Linked DNA regions of Homo sapiens: region 1 is linked to region 2. The links are contacts of gene promoters, found by promoter capture Hi-C in blood cells and fetal thymus (Javierre and others, 2016). All regions are on one chromosome and are shown on one strand. The core of a region is centred on a gene start or on the middle of the fragment in contact, and the rest is flanking DNA. Distances in the headings are between cores, read along the strand shown. Region 1 has its middle 35 kb from the start of EN1. Region 2 holds the start of C1QL2 (complement C1q like 2).

Region 1 (5,128 bases), core at 325-2,824, 280 kb before region 2:
ATTGAGTTTTAATTACAGTACTTCCAGGAACAATGAAGTGAAACCTCTGTTCTCCTTGCATAATTAAATTTAGGTTAGCATATCTGGAGAATTCTTAGCCCACACATGCACCACTTCTCCTTGTCTGAAGAGGGATTTCAAAATTGGACATTGTTGTTTAACGGATGGAGTTAAAGAATGACACATGGGCTTTGCTCCTCTTTAATTACGAATAGTTAATTGTAGAAAGAACCTAATTAGATTGCCCACCAGCGGGAGATGTAGGTGGAGATGAGATGGATCTCTTCATTAGCTATGGTTCCAAGGAAAAGAGGCCAAGGAGGTTTCCAGGCAGGGCAGTCATAATTTTGAGAGACACTGCGGTCCGTGGAAGGGGACTGACTTTGTGAACCTGCAGGCGCTTTGGAGCACCTACATGCTGAGCACCTAAGTTCCAAGCACCATGCTTGTCTCTGAAAGCAGCCCAAGGAAAGGAAAAGACATGGTCCCTTTCCTTGAGATGCCATTAGCTTGTTCAAAAAAACAAAATTAGCATGCTGGAAGCAGAGAAAAAGGAGACCTTCCTCAAAACCTAAACCATGAGCTACTGATGACAGGTTCTAACTGGCGTCCAAGAAAGCAGCTCACTGGAAACTGCAATGGCTTGCAGAATGCTGTGTGGAACCCAAGTCCAAAATCAGTCTCTATCGTTATAAGTGCCGAAGGCTTGACTGGTTAAGTAGCCTAGTGATTCTCAACTGAGGGCGATTTTGTGTCTTGCCTCTCCTGCATAGGACTTTGGCAACATCTGGAGACATTTTTGGTTGCCCTAACTAAGCGGGTTGTTACAGGCATCTCGTAAGTAGAGGCCAGAGATGCTGCTAAACATCATGCAATGCACAGGATGGCCTCACCCCACCCCCAACAAAGAAATATCCAGCCCCAAATGTTCAGAGTACTGAGGCTGAGAAACCCTGGAGTAACCTGTTCTGGATCCAGGGCAGCAAGCGTGGCAGAGAAGTCTCTCGTGCCATGTCAAAGTGTGGCCTGAGACAGACACGTGCTTCCAATCAGCCTCCAGGAGCAGCCACCATCAGGTCACCTGTAGAGAAGGTCCCAGCCTGTGTTTCTTTTGTAAATGGCCGCAGGGTAGCTGCTCAACAGGTTGATCAGCAGTTGGCGAGGGAGTGTGTTCTATAGCTTGGCCACCAGGTGGAGATCGTGGGCTGTTTTTTTGCCATGGAATAGGTGCACCTGAGCTGGACCGGCCTACCCAGAGAGAGGCGTTTGCTCCTGGTTGCTTTCTCTAAGCCTCTGGTAGCCATCAGGAAGAGGGACTTTGAGGAGACAGAGGCATGAACTGGAGAGAGTGCTCAATATCCTCTTCTTGCTTAGCAATCCCTGGGCGTTTACAGCTCTGATCCTCCTTTCCAAACATTGAGATTTGCACCCTGGAACTTTTCTGTTAGCAGTGTCTATTCTGAAGGGGTATTTTGCTCCACTGTTATAAATGTGCCCTGTTGTTTCTGTCTGGAAGACAGACTGGGGAATATGGATAGGGATTGGGGAGGTGGGCAGATGGAAGAGCTACATGGCAGAGGTTGGCGCATCCCATCCCTCAGGTCACGATGTATGCCTGATGCTCTGCACACATGACCTCATTTTACCTCTTGGTGGACCATTTTAGATAGAGGCTTAACAACAAGCCAAAGTTGCACATTAAAGCCAAGTCCAGTCCTCCCCACGTCCCCACAGAGCCTCTTCTTCGACATCAGTGTAGGAGTTTCCTCATCTGTAAAGTCATGGGACTGGACTCAGGCTGGTTGCCTTCAGGGAACCATGTAATTTATCACCTGAGCAGGACACTTGGGAGAGTGGGAGGGAGCACTAACAGGACAGTGGTTGGGACAGCAGGTGCAAACCTGGACACGAGGTCAGCCTGGCTAAGTGACCCTTCCTGTCTAATACCCTCAGCTTCTGAGACCCAAGCGGGACTGTTTTCAGCTTCCATGACATTCATGAACATCATCCGGTGTAGCCATAAGGGAAGACCTGGGGGTAGAAAGAGAGTGAGAAAACTTGAAAGGCTGAGACTTTGGGGGCAATGCCTAGGACCAAAGGGGCACACTACCTCAATAGTTGTGTTCCAGGTTATGAGTGTGTCACTTATCACTTTATTGCCTCACTTCTCCCAACCCATACTTCATTGCATTGCTTGTGATACTGGAGGTGAATCTTGCCAACACGTCTCTTTTGCAACTGGCACGATGCTCAGCTTTGCCAGTAGAGGGTGGTAGAGGCACACTGCAGGGGGAAGGGCTTCTCTGCTGGTGTCTCTGTGCTCTGATTCCTTCTTGCTCCCGCGGGGTTCGGGACACCCAGTTGCAGCCTCCCTCAAGGACTTGCAGTGGCATCCCCTGTGTGCAGCTTTCTAGCGAGTTCTGCTGGCACCTCGCCCAGCTTCCAGTGAGTTCAAAAGCACCCCTTGAGGGCTTCGCCGTCCCACCAGTCCCCCAGCCGATTTTTCAGAAAGTTCAGCAGCGTTTCCTCCAGGCAGCTTCCCGGAAAGGGTTGCTGTCACCCCCGGGGGCAGTTTCCTGTTGGACAGTCTCCACCTGTCACCTGGGCAAACTTCATTCTCCAGTGGGGACAGCCCCATGCTCTCCCGCAAAGTCTGATTCTCATCCTTGGTGGTGAGAGGGGAAGCGGGTGGGGTGTCCCACATTTGTTTTCTCCTCGGGCACTTCGCTTAGCCTTTAGTGCCTGCCCCATATATCTGCCACCTCTGTAAAGTGCTCCCTTTACCCTCAGTAGCCAATACCCTGATACTCCCCTGTTATTAGTTAATAATTCTTAACTTTCCCATTTAAAATCCTGTGTGGTTTTCGTCTCTTGTTTGTCTGATAGTTTTCTTTCATTTTTCAACATCTATTTTTGACTTTCTTTTTGTATTTGTCCTGCTTATCGAGGACCTTGTTTGTAGAAATGCATCAAGAAATAAATTCTTTCATGCCACCAAATTCAGGAGACTCGAGTGAGTATGCTAAGTGGTTTCAGATAGCTGACCCTGAAAGTGTGCAGAGCTGAGCAATGTGTATGGTTCCCCCAAAGCAACTGTCCCTATGTCTTCAAGTTCCCAGGGTTTAAAACACCATGTTGCTTATGCCACTGGGCAGCAAGAAGTGGGCAAGTCACCTCCCCTCTCTAGGCCTCAGGATCTCCTTTTGTGTCCGGAGTTGGTTCCTTCCAGTGAGTTCTTGGTCTGGCTGACTTGAAGAATGAAGTCGCGGACCTTTATGGCGAGTGTTATAGCTCTTAAAAGTGGTGCAAACCCAAAGACTGAGCAGTAGCAAGATTTATTGTGAAGAAGGAAAGAACTAAGCTTCCACAGCATAGAAGGGGATCCCAGCAGGTTGCTGCTGCTGGCTGGGGTGGCCAGCTTTTATTCCCTTATTTGTCCCTGCCCACCTTCTGATGATTGGTCCATTTTACAGAGTGCTGATTGGTCCATTTTACAATCCTTTAGTTAGACACAGAGCGCTGATTGATGCATATTTGCAGAGTTCTGATTGGTGCATTTACAATCCTTTAGCTTGACACAAAAGTTCTCCAAGTCCCCACTAGACCCAGGAAGTCCAGCTGGCTTCATCTCTCAATCTCCCCTCTAAACAGGACACCCCAACTGCTGTTGGGAATTGGGAGATGACTGCTCTAGCTACTTCCTGCTGGATAGGGGTGAAGAAGGGGCCCTGCAGTTGTAGTGTCCTCCAGAGGGGAACTCTTTAGGCCAGTGTAAGGGCCAGCGGGTCGGTCCAAGGATCCTCACTAGAAATTGTTAGTTGAGCTCATTTGGGGCTCCATTTGTAAGATCATCTGTAGTTTGATGGCCTCAATCCTAGAGGAAACAAATTTTACAAGGAGGTTAAAAATGCAGGGCCCGAAGGTGAGTAATAGTAAGCTGGCTGTCACGGTACCTAGAAAGCAGAGAAGCCATGTCGCCCAACTCCAGAGGTTGGTATAAGAGTTTGAAAGGCGTTGTCTGATTTCAGAAGCCTTTTCCTGTAAACGCCGGGCAGCATCTCTTACTATCCCTGACTGGTTAGTGTAAAAACATCACTCTTCCCCTAAGAAGGTGCAGAGTCGTCCCTTCTCAGCAGTAAGGAGATCTAGGCCTCGGTGATTTTGGAGAGTCACTGCTGCCAAAGAGTCTATTTGGGATTGCAGAGGAAGGATAGATTTTGTTATTTCTTGCAAACTGCCTGAGAGGCAGATATAGGTTGAAGTTCCACATAAGAAGAATATGCCTTGGCTGGGTAGACAGAAATTTACCCTGGCTTTTAAAGGAATAGGGTACACTGTTTTTTCTTTACTACTTCTATCTCTCTCTTTCTCTCTCTTTGACTCCTTCTTTGTCTGTCTCTCTTTTGTAAAATGAGAGGGTAGGACAAGGTCATCACTAACATACCCTCCAGCTGTAAGAGTCTGAAATTCTATAGCTGGATGTATGTTCCAGAAACATCTGTACTTTCTCATTATCCACACATGTATAATCATCAGTCTGGCATTCAAGCTGAGTTGTTTCTTAGCCTAGTGAAAGCATCACTTCCAATAAATGTGCAACCACCTCTTGGAAGGCCAACACAACTTACTGTGTTAGTCATTTACCCTTTAGTGAGAATGAGTGCAGAAAGATCATCTGATCAAATAACCCACCTTTGTAGAGAAGATAATGGAGGCCCAGAATGATTAACTGACTTGCCCAAGGCTGCGGGGTTGATTCTGACAAAAGCAGGACTAGAACCCAGGATGCTTGGGTCCCCGTTCAATTTCTCACACCATATTGCTTTTGCACCAGTGTTTAAGTTCTCTGTCAGTTCTTTTCTTGATGTTATATTTGAATGGCAGTAGGAAAAGAAGCTACTGTACTCCTTGGATGGGGTGGGGGAATGTTCATCGTTCACAGGAGAAAAATACAAGGAGATTTTGAAGGAAGGACTAGGGATTCTGAAGATAAGTTATTCTTCTGGCTGATGGTGAATGCAAATTAGCTTCATGCATTTCCTTAAACCAAAGCACTTTAAGGATGTTTTTGTTAAGGCCAAATACCTCACACGTCTGGTACAGTAAGCAAGCTCTTCACTTGTCTTTT
Region 2 (5,457 bases), core at 2,074-4,573:
AAGAAAAAAATCAAAACCATGCGGGGTGTTTTCCTAACTTGTGTGTGTGTAGAATGCTGATGGGACACCAAACACACACACTCAGGTTCAGAGCAGGCACCCCAAATCGCATGCATAAGGGAAGGGAAGCCCGCAGGAAAGAGGCGTCCCTCCCCAAGGAATGGTGTCCACCTCAACACACAGCCCTGAGGAAGTTCAGCAAGCTGGATGATCCGCGGAATTGCCTCAGTTTACCAGCTCTCCGGAGAGCGGTGGCCCTGGCGGCTGTGAGTAAACAGGCCTGTGCTTAGTGAACCATCCGCTCGAGCGGGTGTGTGTCTGCTAGGGACTTCTGCACTTCCTTTTAGGAGCCAAACATCCTACAGATCCCTCCCCGGCAAGTGTCACTCACGCCTCCCATTTCCCATAGATGCCTTCTCTTCCCCTTCCTTCCCCAGAAGCCCCTCCCCTCTGACCTCCACCCACAACTCCGGGAGGACTAAGTTGCCCAAGTTGCCCAAGACTGGAGACCCAATCATTCCTCTCCTGCTTTCCTCTAACTCTCCCTGATGCCTTTCCCCGCCTCCTCCCCTCCTCCCAACCCCACCTCCGGCCTCTCCAGCTCAGGGCTGCAGCCTGGGGAGAGCTTCTGGGAAGGGTGGGATGCAGCTCCCATTTACCCCATGTCTTTTCGGCAACTTCTGGTGGCAGGGACATAGCAGCGGCTGGGGAGCAGGTCATAGATGGGCCTATCCTGGGCCCAGGTAAGGTCTTTATGCCAAGGCGGACATCTGGAGCCCTGGTCCAGGATGTGTCGACATACAGACAACAGAACGCATAGTCTAAAAACATAATTTAATGCATCGCGGTGAGTCTGAGTCAGGAGGGAATGCGGTGTGGAGAGGTGAATTTTCTGTTTGCTGGAATTCTGCTGTGGGTGGGGTTTTGGCTGATGGACAGGGAAATCTGCACAAGTATTTCGGGTCACAAAGAAGGACGCCCCAGGAAGCCCGCGCTCCCTCTGGCCTACCTCCCTGGCCAGGGCCCGGAGCCCTCCGCTTCTAGGCACTGGGAGGAGGCTGTCTGAGGAGGGCAGGCTCCCGGCCCTGCCTGTCCAGTCTAATCAGGTTTGCAAAGTCTGTGCCGCCGCCTCAAGGGCTCGGGCGTCCCTTCCTCCCTTGCCGGGATGGGGATGGAGACCAGGAGCACAGCCCTGAGCGTGGTGGGTCGCAGACGCACTGAGGCCAGGAGCGGGGCAGGGAGGACGCAGGGATTTGTCTTTTCCAAAGGAGATGTCAGGAAGTGTTATGAATCGAGAGTGGCCTTTGCCAAGGAGCCGCGCCCGGGCGGAGACCGGGCGGCCTGCAGCCACCCCGCCTCGCACCCCCCGCGCCCCTAATCCGGGTACAGAAGAAAGCCCGAGAACGTGCTGTACTTGTTATTATTGCCTCCGTGAGCCTTCCCGCCATCCAGCTTCACATACACTTCGTCCCCTGAATCCAAGTGCAGCACCACGCTGTTACTGGCGTAGTCGTAGTTCTGGTCGGCGTCCTGTGCAATGGCGCTGGCCCGGACCTGGGGACAAGCGGTGGGAGCAGGTGAGCCGGGGCACCTCTTCCCGCGCCTTTGCTCAGCCCACACCAGGCGCGCCACTCACGGGCCTCCCGCCTGCTGCTTCAGGGTCCACACTCCCACCCCAGCTCCATGTTCTCTCTCCAACTTAGTCAACTCCTTCCAGGTCCCCCCTCCTCCTCGCGCCGACGAGTCTGGGAAATAGGGAGAGGGGAAGCTTCATGAACACTGACCCAGAGTGGAAGGGTGGGAGCCAGGGGCCAGGGCCAAGAGGAAAGGAGGCTGCAGGGCAAGGGGGCGACCTGGAGAGAACTAAAGAACTGAGGTTTCCGAGAAGCCCACGGAGAGGCAGGCAGGGACGCAAGTGGCCAAGGAGTGTAGTTTAGGTATGGGGGTCTCTGGGCTCTCAAGGCCCAACATTTGGCTCTACGTCCCGGTGAGCGCGGCCTCGGCGCATCGGGAAGCGGAGATACTGTGGCACCGAGGCGCGTTCATTCCCGGGGCTCGCAGGGTAGCCCGCGGGTGGAGAGAAAGGAGGCTGGTTCCCTGGGAGGTTCAGGGCGCGGGCGAGGGTTTACGGGGGCCGGTGAGTGTAGGGGTCACTGACCTGCCCGTTCTTGCAGAGGTCCGCCCACATGCTGGTGCCGTCGCCGCCGCGCATGAGGATGTGGTAGGTGAAGAAGTAGATGCCGCGTACCTGGCAGCTGAACTTGCCCGTGGTGGGGTCATAGTGATTGCCGAGGTTGGTGACCACGTCATCGAACTTCAGCACCTCATAGCCTTCGTGGGGGCTCTTGAGACCCACATAGAAGGCGATCTTGGGGCCGCTGAAGGTGGCGCTCAGCGCACTGGTCACTTCACCCTCGGAATCGCCACCTACCCCGGCCCCGCCGCCCACCACCCCGACGCCGCTGGCCGTGCCCGCCGTCAGTTGCAGCCCTGGCAGCCCGGGCCGCCCCGAGTCGCCCTTCTCTCCCGGAGGGCCCCTGGGTCCAGGCGGGCCCGGCTCTCCAGGGGGCCCCCGCGGCCCTGGCTTGCCCGGTCGCCCCGGGTCGCCCTTGGGTCCCTGGATGAAAGGAGGAGGAGGGTTGGCGCTGAGGTCCTGCATGACTTCCAGGGCGGCGGTGCTGGGTCCGGGTGGCTGCGCCTTTGCACCCGGGGGCTCCCCGCCGGGCGCGGCAGTGTAAGGGTCGCAGATCATGCGGCAGGTGCCCATCATCTCATAGTGCGCGGCGCCTCGGGGCGCCGCCTGCAGCAGCAGCGGCACGGCGATGAGCAGCCCGAGCGCCATGGCCAAGAGTACGCCGACGGCCGCCAGGCAGGCACGCCGCCGCCGCTGCCACAGCCGGGAGGCGACCGCCACCAGCTCCTCCTTGCCGCCCGGGGAGGTAATGGTGGGGCGGCGCGGGCGGCCCCGCTCCCCGCGCTCGGGGACCGGCTCCGCGGGTCCTGGCCGCGCCCCCGACGTGGCGACCCCCAGCCCCGGCTACCCAACTACTTCAGCGAGAGGCGCCGGGACCTCTGAGCCTGGGCCCACCGCGCTGGGGCTGGTCGGGAGAGCCGCGGACGCCCGCGCGCATGACGTGGGGCACACAAGACGAATCCGGCGCCCCGAGGGTCCGGCGCCGGCCAGGGAGTGCTTGCGCTGGCCGGGGAGTCTGCTTGCGGCGTCCGGCGCTGGCTCCGCGGCGCTGCCTCCCGCCAGGCTCCGCTCCGCTGGGTTTAGTGGGGCTCCTAGCGCAGTGAGGGCGCCCCGGCTCCGCGGCGCGCTCTGCTGTGCTCTCTCGCTGTTCGCTGGCTCCCGCGCGGAGGGGGGACCCCGCTACCCTGACGTAAGGAGTCCGGGGCTGAGCGGCGGAGGCGGCGAAGCAGCGCGCGCTGCCATCACTCGGGAGACGGAGCCCTCATGTCATCAGCCTCCTATCTGGCGGCGTCCTCGGCAGAGGCGGTGAAGGCGCGGTTCCCCCTGGCGGCTCCCAGGAGCCACAAGTGGGCGCAGCGGGCGCGGTCCCAAGCCGGGGCACATCGGACACACCCACCCGCGGCCACACTCACGCGCCCCCCACCGATAACACACACAGACACCCACGCACGCAGTGGCGGGGCACGCACAGCCACCCCCACATGGCCACGAAAGCAGCTGGAATCCAGGTGTCAGCAGGGCTCCTCTGGGGTCACCTAATCCATCCCCTGGCCTGCAAAGAGGATCAAACCTCAACCCACCGAGTCCAGGAGAGTCCCGTGAGGTCCAGCGGGAAGGAGTTTCTGAAAGACCTCCTGAGTTATTTCTTCAGAATTGAATAGATCTCGCTTCTGGAAGATCTTTCGCAAACCTAGACTAAGGACTCCAGACTCTTAAACAGGCTCCCGTAGAGCACCCCACTAACCTCTGAGGTGACTCTAAAAAGCCCAAGGCTCCCAATACAAGAATATTTGCGGCCGGGCGCAGTGGCTCACGCCTGTGATCCCAACACTTTGGGAGGCCGAAGCGGGCAGATCACCTGAGGTTGGGAGTTTGAGACCAGCCTGACCAACATGATGAAACCCCGTCTGTACTAAAAACACAAAATTAACTGGGCATGGTGGTGCATGCCCGTAATCCCAGCTACGCGGAAGGCTGAGGCAGGAGAGTCGCTTGAACCAGAGAGGCAGAGGTTGCGGTGAGGCGGGATCGTGCCATTGCACTCCAGCCTGGGCAACAAAAGCAAAAGTCCATCTCAAAAAAAAAAAAAAAAAAAAGGAATATTCGCCTCAGACCTTTTCTTCCACCAGAAAATGGCTGGCCCTTGTCCTCTGCGTGAAGCTGGTGTAGAAACCAAATGCTTGATGCCGGCACTTGGCAGTGATCATGGTGCACTCAGCTTCTACTCCAAGCCCGGCCACTGCCAGGCAGATGCATGGGCACATTCCCTTGGACATCCCCAGCTTCCTCCTCCTGAGATGGGTTTAGTTATTTTAGAAAATAGTCCAAATAGTCCAAAGCCATTCTGAGCCAGTCTTGAATAAACCATGGCCTCAGATGAGAGCAGAATAGTCTATCTCCAATGTAGCATGTGAGGCTAAGGAAGGATGAGAGGCCCGCCGGTGTGGGAGAGACTTCCAGCGGAGAAATCAAAGCCCCAGCTTCTGCTCTTGCCCTGAGTAGCTGTGTGATTTTGCCAGGTGGTTCCTGTCCCTGAGACTCAGTTTCCTTAAAAGGCCGCCTCCTGCCCTAGCACCCCCAACATGGGAATCACACCAGGCCTGTCCTGGGGGGAGAATCTAAGGGCTGGTGTCAGTGTTTGGTGTAGCATCAGCATCTCTGGAACAACAGTGCACCCACCTAAGGCTATTGCTTTGAAGCTAACTCTCATTTGTCCTGCACTAGGTTCTTACGGGTTAATTAAAATCTATTTTTGTCCTCTGATCACCCTGGGTCATTTCCCCACTCCCAACCTCGTTGCTCTAGCCTGTTCTCTCCACATATATTTGTGGAAAGGATGACTGAGCCTAGCCGGAAGCCAACTTTACCAAGGAGAGAAGGAGCACATTTATTGGCACCTACTACGTATGCATCAGGCACTTTGCACGTGCTCCTTCATTCATTCCTCATGTTACTGTGGATTAGTGATCATTTTCCCACCGCACCAATGAGGAAAAAAAAAAGGTTTTGCAAGTGTAGGGTGTTTGCCAAGTGCATTTTACCCACATGACAGAGCCAGGATCCTCCCGGCACCCAGATCAGGGGCTATCTGAACCTGTCAGTGAACACAGCTTCAACAGCTACTTCTTGGCCACAGTCTTCACTGGTTTCCTCAGACTTGGGAGTCTTTCTCCACTCTCTGCCTCAGAGTCATCCCAAGAGCACGTGATTTCAGGAGCCACATGGCCTACTTCCAATCCTGGGTCTGAGACTTCCTGTCTGTG

The links. The method cuts DNA at HindIII sites, captures the fragments that hold promoters and counts their contacts. A CHiCAGO score of 5 or more calls a contact.
Region 1: a fragment that was not itself captured here is called in contact with the fragment with the promoter of C1QL2 in region 2 in 10 of 17 cell types (M0 macrophages, M1 macrophages, M2 macrophages and 7 more); the score reaches 16.9 in M0 macrophages.

What each region holds. Positions count from the first base shown.
Region 1 is chr2:118,880,540-118,885,667 of GRCh38, forward strand. No RefSeq gene overlaps it. Among named protein-coding and RNA genes, the nearest start is that of EN1, 35 kb to the left of the region's middle. RefSeq lists a silencer at 1,226-1,285. The HindIII fragment of the contact is 3,569 bases long and covers 1-3,359 here.
Region 2 is chr2:119,155,428-119,160,884 of GRCh38, forward strand. C1QL2 (complement C1q like 2) reads right to left here and starts at 3,324. Exons shown (of 2, transcript NM_182528.4): 1 at 2,159-3,324; 2 at 816-1,554. The coding sequence starts at 2,842. The coding sequence ends at 1,375. RefSeq lists an enhancer at 1,692-2,502. The HindIII fragment of the contact is 3,837 bases long and covers 1,767-5,457 here.